Linked DNA regions of Homo sapiens: region 1 is linked to region 2. Evidence: promoter capture Hi-C in human tissues and cell types (Jung and others, 2019). All regions are on one chromosome and are shown on one strand. The core of a region is centred on a gene start or on the middle of the fragment in contact, and the rest is flanking DNA. Distances in the headings are between cores, read along the strand shown. Region 1 overlaps PTTG1IP (PTTG1 interacting protein). Region 2 holds the start of SUMO3 (small ubiquitin like modifier 3).

The links. The method cuts DNA at HindIII sites, captures the fragments that hold promoters and counts their contacts. A contact is called where the count stands out against the background at its distance.
Region 1: a fragment that was not itself captured here is called in contact with the fragment with the promoter of SUMO3 in region 2 in 2 of the 25 tissues and cell types used here (aorta and spleen).

The regions. Positions count from the first base shown.
Region 1 is chr21:44,855,395-44,861,439 of GRCh38, reverse strand. PTTG1IP (PTTG1 interacting protein) reads left to right here. Exons shown (of 6, transcript NM_004339.4): 3 at 169-277; 4 at 5,076-5,247. Among named protein-coding and RNA genes, the nearest start is that of PTTG1IP, 15 kb to the left of the region's middle. The HindIII fragment of the contact is 9,171 bases long and covers 1-6,045 here.
Region 2 is chr21:44,816,594-44,823,135 of GRCh38, reverse strand. It overlaps SUMO3 (small ubiquitin like modifier 3), which reads left to right and starts at 5,074. Exons shown (of 4, transcript NM_006936.3): 1 at 5,074-5,188. The coding sequence starts at 5,168. RefSeq lists silencers at 4,463-4,562, 4,583-5,162, 5,343-5,542. The HindIII fragment of the contact is 28,474 bases long and covers 1-6,542 here.

The sequences.
Region 1 (6,045 bases), core at 2,050-4,549, 40 kb before region 2:
ACCGAAGGGCGCTGAGGGTGAAGGCAGAGATGAGGCGTTGAGGGGGAGGTTGAGCCTTTACAGCCATCCACAGAGCGATGGCAGCACTGGCGGGCTGTGGGCAGAGCCTGGACAGTTCTTTGGTTTTTCTGTTGTTTCTAATGCTTGCTTAATGTTGGTCTCTTTCAGTGTCTTTGGTGCAACACTAACAAGGCTTGTCTGGACTACCCAGTTACAAGCGTCTTGCCACCGGCTTCCCTTTGTAAATTGAGCTCTGCACGCTGGGGAGTTTGTTGGGGTAAGTCATTGTTTTCATTTGCTGCTTGCAAAATCGATGCTTCTTTGAAAATAGTAGTATGGGCCGGGCGCGGTGGCTCACGTCTGTAATCCCAGCACTTTGGGAGGCGGAGGCGGGTGGATCAAGAGGTCAGGAGATTGAGACCATCCTGGCTAACATGGTGAAGCCCCGTCTCTATTAAAAATACAAAAATTAGGTGGGCGTGGTGGCATGCACTTGTAATCCCAGCTACTTGGGAGGCTGAGACAGGAGAATTGCTTGAACCCGGGAGGCGGAGTTTGCAGTGAGCCGAGATCGTGCCACTGCACTCCAGCCTGGCGACAGAGCGAGACTGTCTCAAAAAAAAAAGAAAATAGTATTATGTGCTCAGTTAGCAGAAGTTGCTAGAAAATGTGCTGCCAGTAGCTCTGTGACTCCCAGGGAGAGGTTGGGAAGCCAGGGGTGATCTGCTGACCGGGAAAGCAGCCCTGGGGAACCTGGAGGACCTCCTTCAAGGTGGTCAGCCCCAGCACTGAGCTCTATCTCACCACGTTACAGAAGGTGTGGGGAAAAGGGTGAGTTTGAAGGCAACGTGTTTGACTTCTCTGCTCAGTATGTTTTGTTCATGTGTCACCCCTGAAACTCACCTGTGAATTCCCCTAGAATCTCCAGTTTTCCCAGCTTAAGAATCCCTGCTTGCGTAGACAGCCCTCTTTTTTTGTGTGCGTATCTTTGTATATTTGATTTTGGAGGCGTTTTTAAATTAAGGAAATCAGCTCTTGTGAGATTCAAGTTGTTTTCTAGTTTGCCTTTATTTATTTATTTATTTATTTTTGAGACGGGCTGGAGTGCAATGGCACTATCTTGGCTCACTGCAAGCTCCGCCTCCCAGGTTCACGCCATTCTCCTGCCTCAGCCTCCTGAGTAGCTGGGACTACAGGTGCCCGCCACCACGTCCGGCTAATTTCTTGTATTTTTTAGTAGAGACGGGGTTTCACTGTGTTAGCCAGGATGGTCTCGATCTCCTGACCTCATGATCTGCCCACCTCAGCCTCCCAAAGTGCTGGGATTACAGGCGTGAGCCACTGCGCCCAGCCCCGTAGTTTGCCTTTTAAATCAGTTTGTGGTGTGTTTTGTAACCTAGAACTCATTATTATGTAGTTGAATTTATTAATCTTTTAGGCTTCAGGTTTTGGGGTAATACATAGGGTTCCTAAACTTTGTAAAGAAGCAATATTTTCTTAAGGTGTTTTGATGATTCTTTTTGTTTATTTGCATCTTGGATCCCTCTGCAACTTACGTCTTACTTACCACTCTTCTAATTGATTTCCATTTCAAAATCTATCAGCCTCCATCTGAAACAACTTGTTGCTGGTGTTGAGGCCCTAGAGAATTCAAAAGTTTGTGTGGTGGTGGTGGTTGTAGTGTGGGATGTCTGGCAGGGGGTGGTGGTGGTGTGTGTGCACCTTCATGTGTGATGTGTGTACTGTGTGTGATGCATGTGTGTTTGTGAACTCATCCCTTCCATGGAACTTCTCTTAATGACCACTCTGAAGACACAGCTCCTGGACCTGGGGAGCCTTGCCCTTTGGAACACCTGTTCTGGAGGTGTTTTTAATGGCATGTAGCTTCTCATGAAGTGCACACATCTGAAGTCTCTCTCTGCATGGACTTTATAGCCTACATAATGCACACATGTGTGCCTGCATGGACCGCAGTTTATAGCCTACATAATGCACACGTGTGTGCCTACATGGACCGCGGCTTATAGCCTACATAATGCACACGTGTGTGCGTACATATATTCAGTGCATTTTTGCATACGTATACAGGTTATCACCACTCACAGCAAAGTAGGTAGGACTTCCAGGACTTTCAGAAGGCCCAATTCCTGTCAGGACCCCCATGGGAGCCACTGACTGGACTTCCCGTCACCACAGATTAATGTTACTGGTTCCCGCCTTTATGTGGAGGAAATCCTGTGCTTTATTGGATGTTTTATTCAGCATGTGCCCGAGATTCGTGTCAATTGCCTGCACCAGTTATCTTTCTCGTGCAGTGTTCTACAGCTGTTCAGCCATGCTGCCACTCAGGGACGCCTGGGTCCTTCTGGTGCTGCTGTGAGCGGTGTTGTGTTGGTGCCGGCACAGGCGCTCACGTCTGGAGGAGTGTAGGGGTGGAGTTGCTGTGTCACGGAGCATATTTGTGTTTAGCCTTAGTACGTCTGCCAAATGTTTTTGGAGTGGCTGTACCAGTTTGGCCTCCCTCAGGCAATGTGGGACTTGGTTGCTCCACATCCTTCCCAATGTTTAGGGTAACCAGTCACCCTAAGTTCAGTCCATCTAGTGGGTGTGTAGTGGTGTCTTGTGCTTCTCACCTGCATTTCTGCAGTGACTAGCCGATCGTGCTGAGCACCTTTACAAGTGGTGGGTGTTTTTGACAATTCTCTTGTGAAATGACATCCCCACGCTAGGCTGCAGAAGTGGATGGACACACAACACCCAGCCCTGCACATGAGAGCGGCAGCAGGTGACTAGTCACAGTCACAGTGGGGAGGGGGCACCACACGCCACGCAGGGTCCCGCAGGGGAACAGGGCTCGGGGAGGCAGCCATTTCGTGACAGGAGGGTGGGGTGCGATGGGCTTGTTTGGTTAATTCTGAGGCTGAGAGGGAACTGACACCTGCTCCTCCGGGAGAAACAGAAAGTGTGCCTGGCCCTGCCGGGAGGAGGAAGAGGCTGTCTGAGCTGGGACCTTGTCCAGCCTTGCCCACGGGAGCAGAGTGGGGAGGAGCAGTTGTGGCCGGGCCCTCAGGGCCCTCCTGATTTCACCAGATGCCGCGGCGCACATGATACCCGTTTTAGGTCTTGCACCACAGGTCCTTGTTTATTCTTACAGGTAACCTTAGAACCATTTTATCCAGTTCTAGCCAAAATTATTTTGGAGCTTTAATTGTAATGGCCTGATAAACATGCTTACTTGAAGGAAAATGAAATGTCTACAGCGTTGGCCGTTTGTCCAGAGGCAAAGATGCCTCTCTTTCAGGCCTCTCCCACATCCTTTGGTTCAAGTTCAAGTTCATGGGTTTTACCCTATGGAATCAGCAAAAGGAGCCCAGAGTTTGTTTCCCATTGTGACAGGATTTCTGTTTGTTTTTAACTAGTTTTAGCTGCTAATCAGAAAAGCTATCTGAGGGGTAGATATGTTTTAAGGCCAGCCATCTTGTTGATCTCATTGGAGTTCTCCAGTCAGAAAATGACATCTTCTGCCAATGAAGGTCCCCTCTGTAGTTCTCCCTCTTACTATAATTTTTGCAATTCTACGCTTCCAGAACAGGTCAGAGGAGGAAAAAACACAGGATTAAAAGCTCAAAAGGCATTTGATCAGATGTAACCTCCTATTCCTGATTTTCAAACTATTTTAATAAACTAAGAAATGCGGATCTCAGCGTCCGGGGCAGCAGAGGGGTGAGGCTGCGGGAGCCCCAGAGGCCTGGCCGTCGGCCTCCTTGCCAGGGCCCAGGCATGCAGCAAGTGTTCAACTCCCAGCCCCTGGAGGTGAGACGGTGTCACCTGTGGTGGTGGCACAGCTATTAACTGTAGTTAAAAACAGTGAATCATGCGGTAATCTACTGCCCAGGGGAGTTTGCTTATAAAGCCATCTTCAGGAGGCTGGCTGGGTGTTTTTTGTTTGTTTCAAGATGGTGTCTTGCCGTGTTGCCCGGGCTGGAGTGCAATAGTGTAGGCACGGCTCACTGCAGCCTCAACCTCCCAAGCTCAAGCGATCCTCCCACCTCAGCCTCCCATGTCGCTGGGACCAGAGGTGCATGCACCACACCCAGTTAATTTGTTAAACAGTTTTGTAGAGATGGGCAGGGCTGGGTCTCACTTTGTTGGCTGGGCGGGTGTTGAACTCCTGGGCTCAAGCAATCCTCCCGATTTGGCCTCCCAAAGTGCTGGGATTATAGGTGTGAGCCACTGTGTCCAGCCAAGGAGGCTGTTTGAACTACATGATTGAAAACACATTTGCAAAAGTAGTTTTAGGGTATTTTTTAATTGCCTCTGGTTTGAACTGAATGGAAAAATCTTGGCTGATTTCAATGTATAGATCTTCAAAAGAAGTTTAAAAGGATAGTAAGATCTGTTTTAAATGTGCACGTGTGTCTGAAGGCTGGTTAAGGAAATCATAACAGGGTTTGGGACCGATTAGCCAGCCGTTCTTCAGCCCCAAGGTCCTCAAAACACTCAGATTTGAAGATGATCCCGTCTTGTTCCGTGGTCTCGTCCGCTCCTCCACGGTCATTCTTTTCGAACCTGGCCGCCAGTATGTGCCCTGAGAGTCTATTTCTCTTGTAAATCATTGTAATATTCTTGACTTTGGTTTAAATAAAAAAAAAGAAAGCTGCATCAGGCTTAACCTCCATTTCTGTGAGTTTAGAATGTCTTACGAGAGTCTGAGTATGTAGCTTGGAATTTTGGTTAGTTAACTTTTCTCAGGCTTGAAATACCTTTTCAAACTCAGCTGAGACAGACTACCCTGTCACTTCAGTTCATTATGGTTAATATTATAAATTGTTAATAAATTCTAAGTCACAGATAGGAACGTGTGGCTGAAAGGAGACTTGGAGAGGGCGGGACCCTGTGGGGTGGAGGCAGGGCCACAGGCTCTCCACACGCCAGGAGCCAGCAGCCTGGCCGAGGCGGCTTTCCTCCTTATGCTCCTGTGTCCTGAGGTTGTTCCCCAGGGGCGAGGGAAGGCTGCTGTGCTGGGTGGGTTCTGTGTCTGGGGCGGCCCTAACTCCAGGTGCTTGAATCTCCAGTGAACTTTGAGGCGCTGATCATCACCATGTCGGTAGTCGGGGGAACCCTCCTCCTGGGCATTGCCATCTGCTGCTGCTGCTGCTGCAGGAGGAAGAGGAGCCGGAAGCCGGACAGGAGTGAGGAGAAGGCCATGCGTGAGCGGGAGGAGAGGCGGATACGGCAGGAGGAACGGTGAGGTGGTGGTGATGCCCGCTGGGAAGGTTACTTCGAGGGGATTCAGATCTGCAAGGCCATGGAAATCACATGGATACATCCTGAGTTTTCCTCAGTTTTTAGAAATTAAGAATGTGTATAGTGCCCAGGGGATCTTCTAGGTCGTGGTAGAGAGCGAGAGACTGTGATGGGAACCTAGCAGTGGCTGCGAACCTTGCTTCTATAGGCTTCCTCGCCCGGTGTCCTCCCATCGGTGCAGTAAGGCTGAGTCTGTGCGCGGTGACACGGGTGTGTGACGGCTGCTAAGGCGGCTCGTCCAGGCCCAGCATTTGCCAAGAGCAAGCTGAGGCTCAGAGGGGACAGCGTCTGACTGTGGCTGGGTCAGCTCTCCTGTCGCCCTTTCCCTGGTGACACAGCACTCTCCTGAGTGCTTGCTGGGGCTCTGGGGCAACCCCAGGAGGAGGTGGTGTAATCCACACCTGGCAAAGGAGAGGACCTGAGGGGCCAACTGTCAGGTTGGCGGCGGGCGAGGGTGGAAGCGGGACAGATTTTCCATGTAGTCACCTTGAAGTCACATGCTACTAAGTAAAAGCTGACAATCGCATTTTCCTCACCATCTTCAGAACCTGGTGTATGATTTTTACTGTGTTTTCTTTGTATGAAAAAAGCTTTTTAAAAATCACGGTATTGGGCATTTGAATTGCTTTTATTGAAAAGAGTAGAGTAATACATTGGAACGGCCTTTGAAGACTGGGTTCGTTGTCACCTTGCCTGTCCTGGTGGGTATGTGGCCTGATGACCAAGCTTGTCCTCACC
Region 2 (6,542 bases), core at 3,825-6,324:
CACCACGTTGAAGATGTTAATTCCATTGTCACCTGGCTTCCATGGTTTTGTCACAAAGTCAGGTGTAAGTCCTTTAGTTTCTCCTTTATATGTCTAGCTTCTATTCTCTTTGTCTTTGGTTTTCAGCAGGTTTAGAATGTAACCACGTGTTTTTTTAATCTATTCTGATTGATGTTGATAGTACATTTGTAATCTGTGTTTTGTTACCTTTGATCAATTTTTTTTTGAGACAGAGTCTTGCTCTGTTGCCCAGGCTAGTGTGCAATGGCGTGATCTCAGCTCACTGCAACTTCCATCTCCTGGGTTCAAGAAATTACAGGTGCCCACCACCATGCCTGGCTAATTTTTTGTATTTTTAGTAGAGATGGGGTTTTGCCATATTGGCCAGGCTGGTCTTAAACTCCTGACCTCCGGTGATCCACCCACCTCCGCCTCCCAAAGTGCTGGGATTACACTGCACCCAGCCTGAATATTTTCTTCTGACCTATCTTTCAGTTCATTAATCATCTCTTTCACTGTGTCTAATCTGTTTCAAACCCATCCATTGAATTTATAACTTCAGCTATTGTTTTTTTAATTTCCATTAAATTGTTTTTTATATACCCCACTTCTCTGCTGAACATTTCCATCTCATAATCTATTTTCTTGAACATATTAATCACATTACCTTAAAGTGTATGATAATGTCAATATCCTGTTGACATGATAATCCCATGGAATTATTCCTACTTTATTTATATATATATTTTTTGGTTTTGGATCATTTGTCTCCTGGTTTTCTTTGTAAACTTTAAATCTGGATATTGTATATGGAAATATTTTAGTTAATTTGAGGCCCTGGATGATGCTATTTACCTCTGCATATTTCCTTTTGCTTTGGGCTGGCTGTGGGAAAGAGAGCAGATCAACTTAGTCTGGGAGTCAGCCCTTTGGAAGCTTGGTTTCAGACTTTGAGAGGGACGATCTACTCACCCCTCAGCCTTCCTCCCCTATTGCAGCCCTCAGTGCTCTCAGCTGAAGGTCTGGGTCACTCATCAGAGTCTCCCTATCTTGTGGGCTGTCACCAATTATTGTCTCCCCAACCCTAGGAGATGCAAAAGCTCTGCTCAGTGTGTCAACTTCTTTCCACTGCATATGTGAGACTGAATTGTGTCCCCCCAGCATTCACATGTTGAAGCCCTGACCTCCAATGTGATTTCATTTGGAGACAGAACCTTTAAAGAGGTGATTAAGGTTAACTGAGGTGATAAGGGTGGGGCCCTAATCCCAGAGGACTGGTGTCTTTGCAAAAGGAGGAAGATACACCAGAGATCTCTCCCTCTCTGCAGACACAGCAGAAAGGCCATTGTGAGAACACGCCAAGTTGGCTGCATACAAGTTGGGAGGAGAGGCTTGACCGGACACCAACCCTGATGGCTCACTGATTTTGGGCTTCCAGTCTCTAGAACTGTCTGGAGGCTGGGAAATAACTATCAATGGTTTAAGCTGCCCAGTCTGTATTATTTATTTATTTTTTTTTGAGACAGAGTTTCACTCTTGTTGCCCAGGCTGCAGTGCAATGGTGCTATCTTGGCTCACCACAACCTCCGCCTCCCAGGTTCAAGCGATTCTCCTGCCTCAGCCTCCCGAGTAGCTGGGATTACAGGCATGCGCCACCATGCCCGGCTGATTTTGTATTTTTAGTAGAGATGGGGTTCCTCCATGTTGTTCAGGCTGGTCTCAAACTCCTGACCTCAGGTGATCTGCCTGGCTCAGCCTCTCAAAGTGCTGGGATTACCGGCGTGAGCCACCGCGTCCGGCCCCCGGTCTGTATGTTTTTATGGAAGTCTAGGCTAACACAGGATACTAATCACCAAGTGCCTCAAAGGAAAAAAACTCTTCCCTTTTCTTTTTGAGGTGGGGGAAGGTCTTTGCCCCTCACAGAAAGACTTCTTTTGGTAGCTGATAGCCTTAAACAGATTTAAAGAATATTTTATACTGATTTTTGGGCTATTTTTGTTGGGTTTGTCTGAGGCAACCAGTCCTCCCTAACTGTAAGTAGAAACGTCTCTGAACGCCTCAGGGATTTCTCCTCACATGCCAAGCATCTGTGTCAGTCTTCTCACTCAGCCATTGGATACTCAGGGGCCCTTTCCATTTATGGAGTCAAATATTTCTTTAGTTCAGAGAAATTTCTTATTTTTACTTTTTCTTTGAGATAGGGTCTTGCCCTGTTGCCCAGGCTGGAGTGCAGTGGTGCGACCTTGGCTCACTGCAGCTTCTGCCTCCTGAGTTCAAGCTGATTCTCCAGCCTCAGGCTTCCAAGGAGCCAGAATTACAGGCACACACAACCACACTCAGCTAATTCTTGTATTTTTAGTAGAGATGGGGTTTCACCATGTTGCTCAGGCTGGTCTCAAACTCCTGACCTCAGGTGATCCGCCTGCCTCAGCCTCCCAAAGTGCTGGGATTACAAGCGTGAGCCACCGTGCCTGGCCTCAGAGATATTTTCTCCAATTCTGTCTTTGATTTTGTCCTGGTTTCCTTTTTTCCACCTTCTCCTGCAGCTCCTGTCAGGTGGACGTAGCCCTTCCTGTACTGATGCCCGGTGTCTCGGCCTTCCAACCTTCCCTCTCTCTTTTCTTTTTTTTTGAAATGGAGTCTCACCCTGTTGCCCAGGCTGGAGTGCAGCGGCACGATCTTAGCTCACTGCAACCTCTGCCTCCTGGGTTTAAGCGATTCTCCTGCCTCAGCCTCCCAAGCAGCTGGGATTACAGGCATGCGCCACCAGGCCCGGCTAATTTTTTTGTGGAGACGGGGTTTCACCATGTTGACCAGGCTGGTCTCGAACTCCTGACCTTGTAATCCACCAGCCTCAGCATCCCAAAGTGCTGGGATTACAGGCATGAGCCACCCAGCCCAGCCCTGACCTTTCCTCTCTTAACTTCTCCATCATGGGAGAGTCCTGTGACTTTGTCTCGCAGTTCTTTGCGTCCTCAGCCAGGACCCCTCTCCTAGTCACATGTGGGTCGAGCTTTCATGTCAGCAATGCTGTTACTCATTTGCCAGTTCCCTGCCTTCTCATGAGTCTTCTTGTTGGGACCATCGCCAGGTGTGGCGACCCTCCGGAGGGGCTCTGGCCATTTGGGTTCTTTACCCTGTGCTCGTGGTAGGCCACGGTTTTTCCTGAGCTCTGGTTCCTCCGTCCATTCGATCCCCTTTGGCTGTGTCCTTCAGAAACCTCTTGGCGTTCGGTCCACCAGCGGTGTCCTTTGTGTCCCCACAGCTGCGACAGAGCCTTTTTGCATCTTTGCTGTCACATGAAGGATTCGGGGCAGGTCACAGTGTGGGAGACAGACACAGCATGAATTGAATTCAGACCACCATTGTCTTATAGCCTGGCTTTTTAAAACCTAATGTCATCTGAGCCTCTTTTTCCCTTATCCATGACTGTAGTCACGCATCACTTCGTGACACAGCAACTGGCGTAATTTCGAGCGGTAACACATTTGGGTTCTGTGTCTCATGATTTCTAAGCTGCGTGTTTCTCACTTCCACAACACTGAAGCGGGCTGCCGTCATCCACAGCCTGCCGGAGTTTAGTGTGTCTGTGCTACCTACGGTCGTGTTGTTTTATGATTAACGGTGTCTTGGAGTCGATAACTCTCTGAACCCTGCCTGCCCTAGGGCACTTCCAGGGCCAGCAATCTGTGGGCTCTGAGGCGCCACGTCCCCTCGGAAGGGGCTGGTTGCGGAGCCCCCTCCCAGGACCGTCTGAGCTGGCCACCCACCTCCACATCCTCTGCTGAGGCCCTGGGCTCCAGGTTCCAGAAGGAAGGGACCACACCTTATGACCTGCCTGGGACTGGGGCTGACTCTCAGACCCTCTCCCCGAAAGACTTCAGCAGCCTTCCCCCTCCTAAGTGGGGGCTCTAGCCAAGAAAGTGAATTTTTGAGTAGAAGACGGTTTGTGAAGTTATGGTCCATGAAGACTTGTCTCCATGGCTTTGCGACGTTGCTCAGTTGGCTGAGCCTTTCCCAGGCAGGACAGAAACGGCTCAGACGCTTAGGTTCAAATCCAGGCCCTGCCATTTCCCAGCTGAGCCTGAAGTGCGGCCTCCCCCGCCTTCGGCCGGGCTCACCATCAGATGAGACCTCCGCCACGCCCCGGCTGGCACCACCCGGGCACTCCTGAGGGACGCAGGGGTGTCCGCCCTCAGGTCCGTTCCATCCGAGGCCCTGGGATCACAGACATGGAGGCCGGGGCGGGCCAGGCACCCCAGGAATGGCGCCCGCAAGTCCGGGGAGGCCGTCCTGCCGGCCCAGCGCGTTTCCCGCGTCCACGAGGTCCCCGTTCCGCCGGCACTGGCGGCGTCCAGCCTGGGTTTGCCCGCGCTCGCCGACGTGGCGGCCTGGCCAAGCTCGGCGCCGCTCACCAGCGCTGACCTGGGGGTGGTTTGACCTCCCAGTGCCTCAGTTTCTTCACAGGTAAAACGGGTCTTCTTGAGGACGGGTGTGGAGGGCCCGGGGCAGCCCCGTAGGAGCGTTGGCCAAAGGAGCCCGGCCTGGGGCTGACAGGAAACCGCGGCGGCAGGGAGGCGGGTGGCGCCCCCAATCGTCTAGGGTGCTGGCCCGATTCGCGCGGCCCCCGCGGACGGGACCCCGCGGGCCGCCTTCTCCGCTCTGTCCGCGGCTCCTGAGAGGGAACGTCACCCCCAGCGTCCTCCCTCCTCCGCCCCAGGTCCCTGCGGCCATGGGCGGCGGCCCCGGCCTCACTTCCCGGCGCCCCAGGAACGCGGCCCCCAGGAAAGGAGTCGGGGCCCGGGCGACGCGGGGAGGCGGGCAAGGGTCCCCAGGGCCCGGGCTCCCCGTAAACGCTCCTGGCCCGCGCCCCACAGCGCCCTAGGGCTTCCGCGCCCGACGGGGTCGCGCGGGACCCGCCCCGTGACGCATCTCCAACCGCCCAGAGCCGCGGCCCGGCCTGCGCGCGCCCGACGCCCCGGGGAGCGCGCCTCGTGAACGCGCGCAGCCACGTGACCCCCGTGCCGGCCAACGGGTGCGCCGGGATTTGGGGGATAAAGCGCGGCCCCGCGCACAGTTGCGGCGGGAGAGCGGCGGGGCCGAGAGCGTGACTCGCCCGCTCCGCGCTGCTTCCCCCGCGCCGCCTCCCCGCGCCGCTCGCGCAGCCATGTCCGAGGAGAAGCCCAAGGTAAGCGCGGCGACCCCGCCTGCACGCGCGTCTATCGCGGGCGTCCCGCCCCCAGCCCGGCTCCGCCCCCACCCCGACTCCGCCCCGCGTCCCGCCCCTGACAGGCTCCGCCCCTCCCCGCCCTCTAGAGCCCCGCCCCTAAGTGGGCCCGCCCAAGGTGCGCCCCCTCTGCCCCCGCGAAGCGCGCTGTGCCGCGAGCTCCGCCCCCTCCGGGCCTGGCCACGCCTCCGCTCCACGCCCGTCTCCTCCCCAGCTGGGAAGGCGCGCGCCCAGCGCCTCCTTGAGCGCCCGGTGTCGGGCCCCGCGCTGCTGCTCCTGCAGAGCGCGGCGCCCTCGGATCCCGCCCCAGCAGTGTCCCCGAAGCGTCTTTGCGTGCTCCTCTCCTGAGTCATTGCTGGTTGGGGTCGCCCTCTCCCCCGGCATCGCCCTGGGTGCGGGATCCTGTGTCGAGTGCACGGAGTCGGCTCGGGAACAAGCGTCTGGGGTTACCCCCAAGGGGCGCGCTCTGAGGGGCCTGGCCCCTGTGAGCAGCACTGCCGTCCTTCCAGGGCGCCCATCGCGACCCCGGTATTCACCCACTTCTCCGCATCGTGTCCCGGCCATCGCGTCCCCCAGTGTGCGCCCACCCCTCTCCTTCGTGTCTCCCCAATCGTGCCCTCAGTGTGCACCTACTCCCACCCATCGCGCCCCGTGTGCACCCACCGCCTCCATCGCGTCCCCCGGTGTGCGCCCACCCCTCCCCATCGCGCCCCCCGGTGTACGCCCACGCCTCCCCATCACGCCCCCCATGGTGTGTACCCACTCCTCCCCATCATGCCACCTGGTGTGCGCCCACCCGTCCCCATCATCGCGTCCCTGGTGTGCGCCCACCCCTCCCTATTGCGTCGCCCTCTCCATCACACCCCCAGTGTGTGCTCACCCCTCCCCGTCGCGTCCCCCAGTGTGCGCCCACCCCTATCCATCGCGTCCCCCTTTCCATCACACCCCCAGTGTGCGTCCACCCCTCCCCATCACCCCCTCCACGATGTGCGCCCACCCCTCCCCATCACGCCCCCTATAGTGTGTGCCCACCCCTCCCTATCACGCCCCACGGTGTGCGCCCACTTCTCTGCATTGCGCCTCCCCCACCATGCGCGCCCACCCCTCCTTATCCAGCCTTGGGTGGGCTTTAGTCTCCCCCATTGCCATGCTGGGGTGTGCCTCCCTCCAGTCTCAGTCCTGGGGTATGCACCCTGCATTCAGGTGCACTGGCCATTCCTTCTCGGGAGGGTCTGTAGTCGCATTCTCCAGTGTTCATAAAAAGAGAACCTTTCCGAAGCCCTTGGTGTGCACTGTCGGCCTCTATGTTACATCC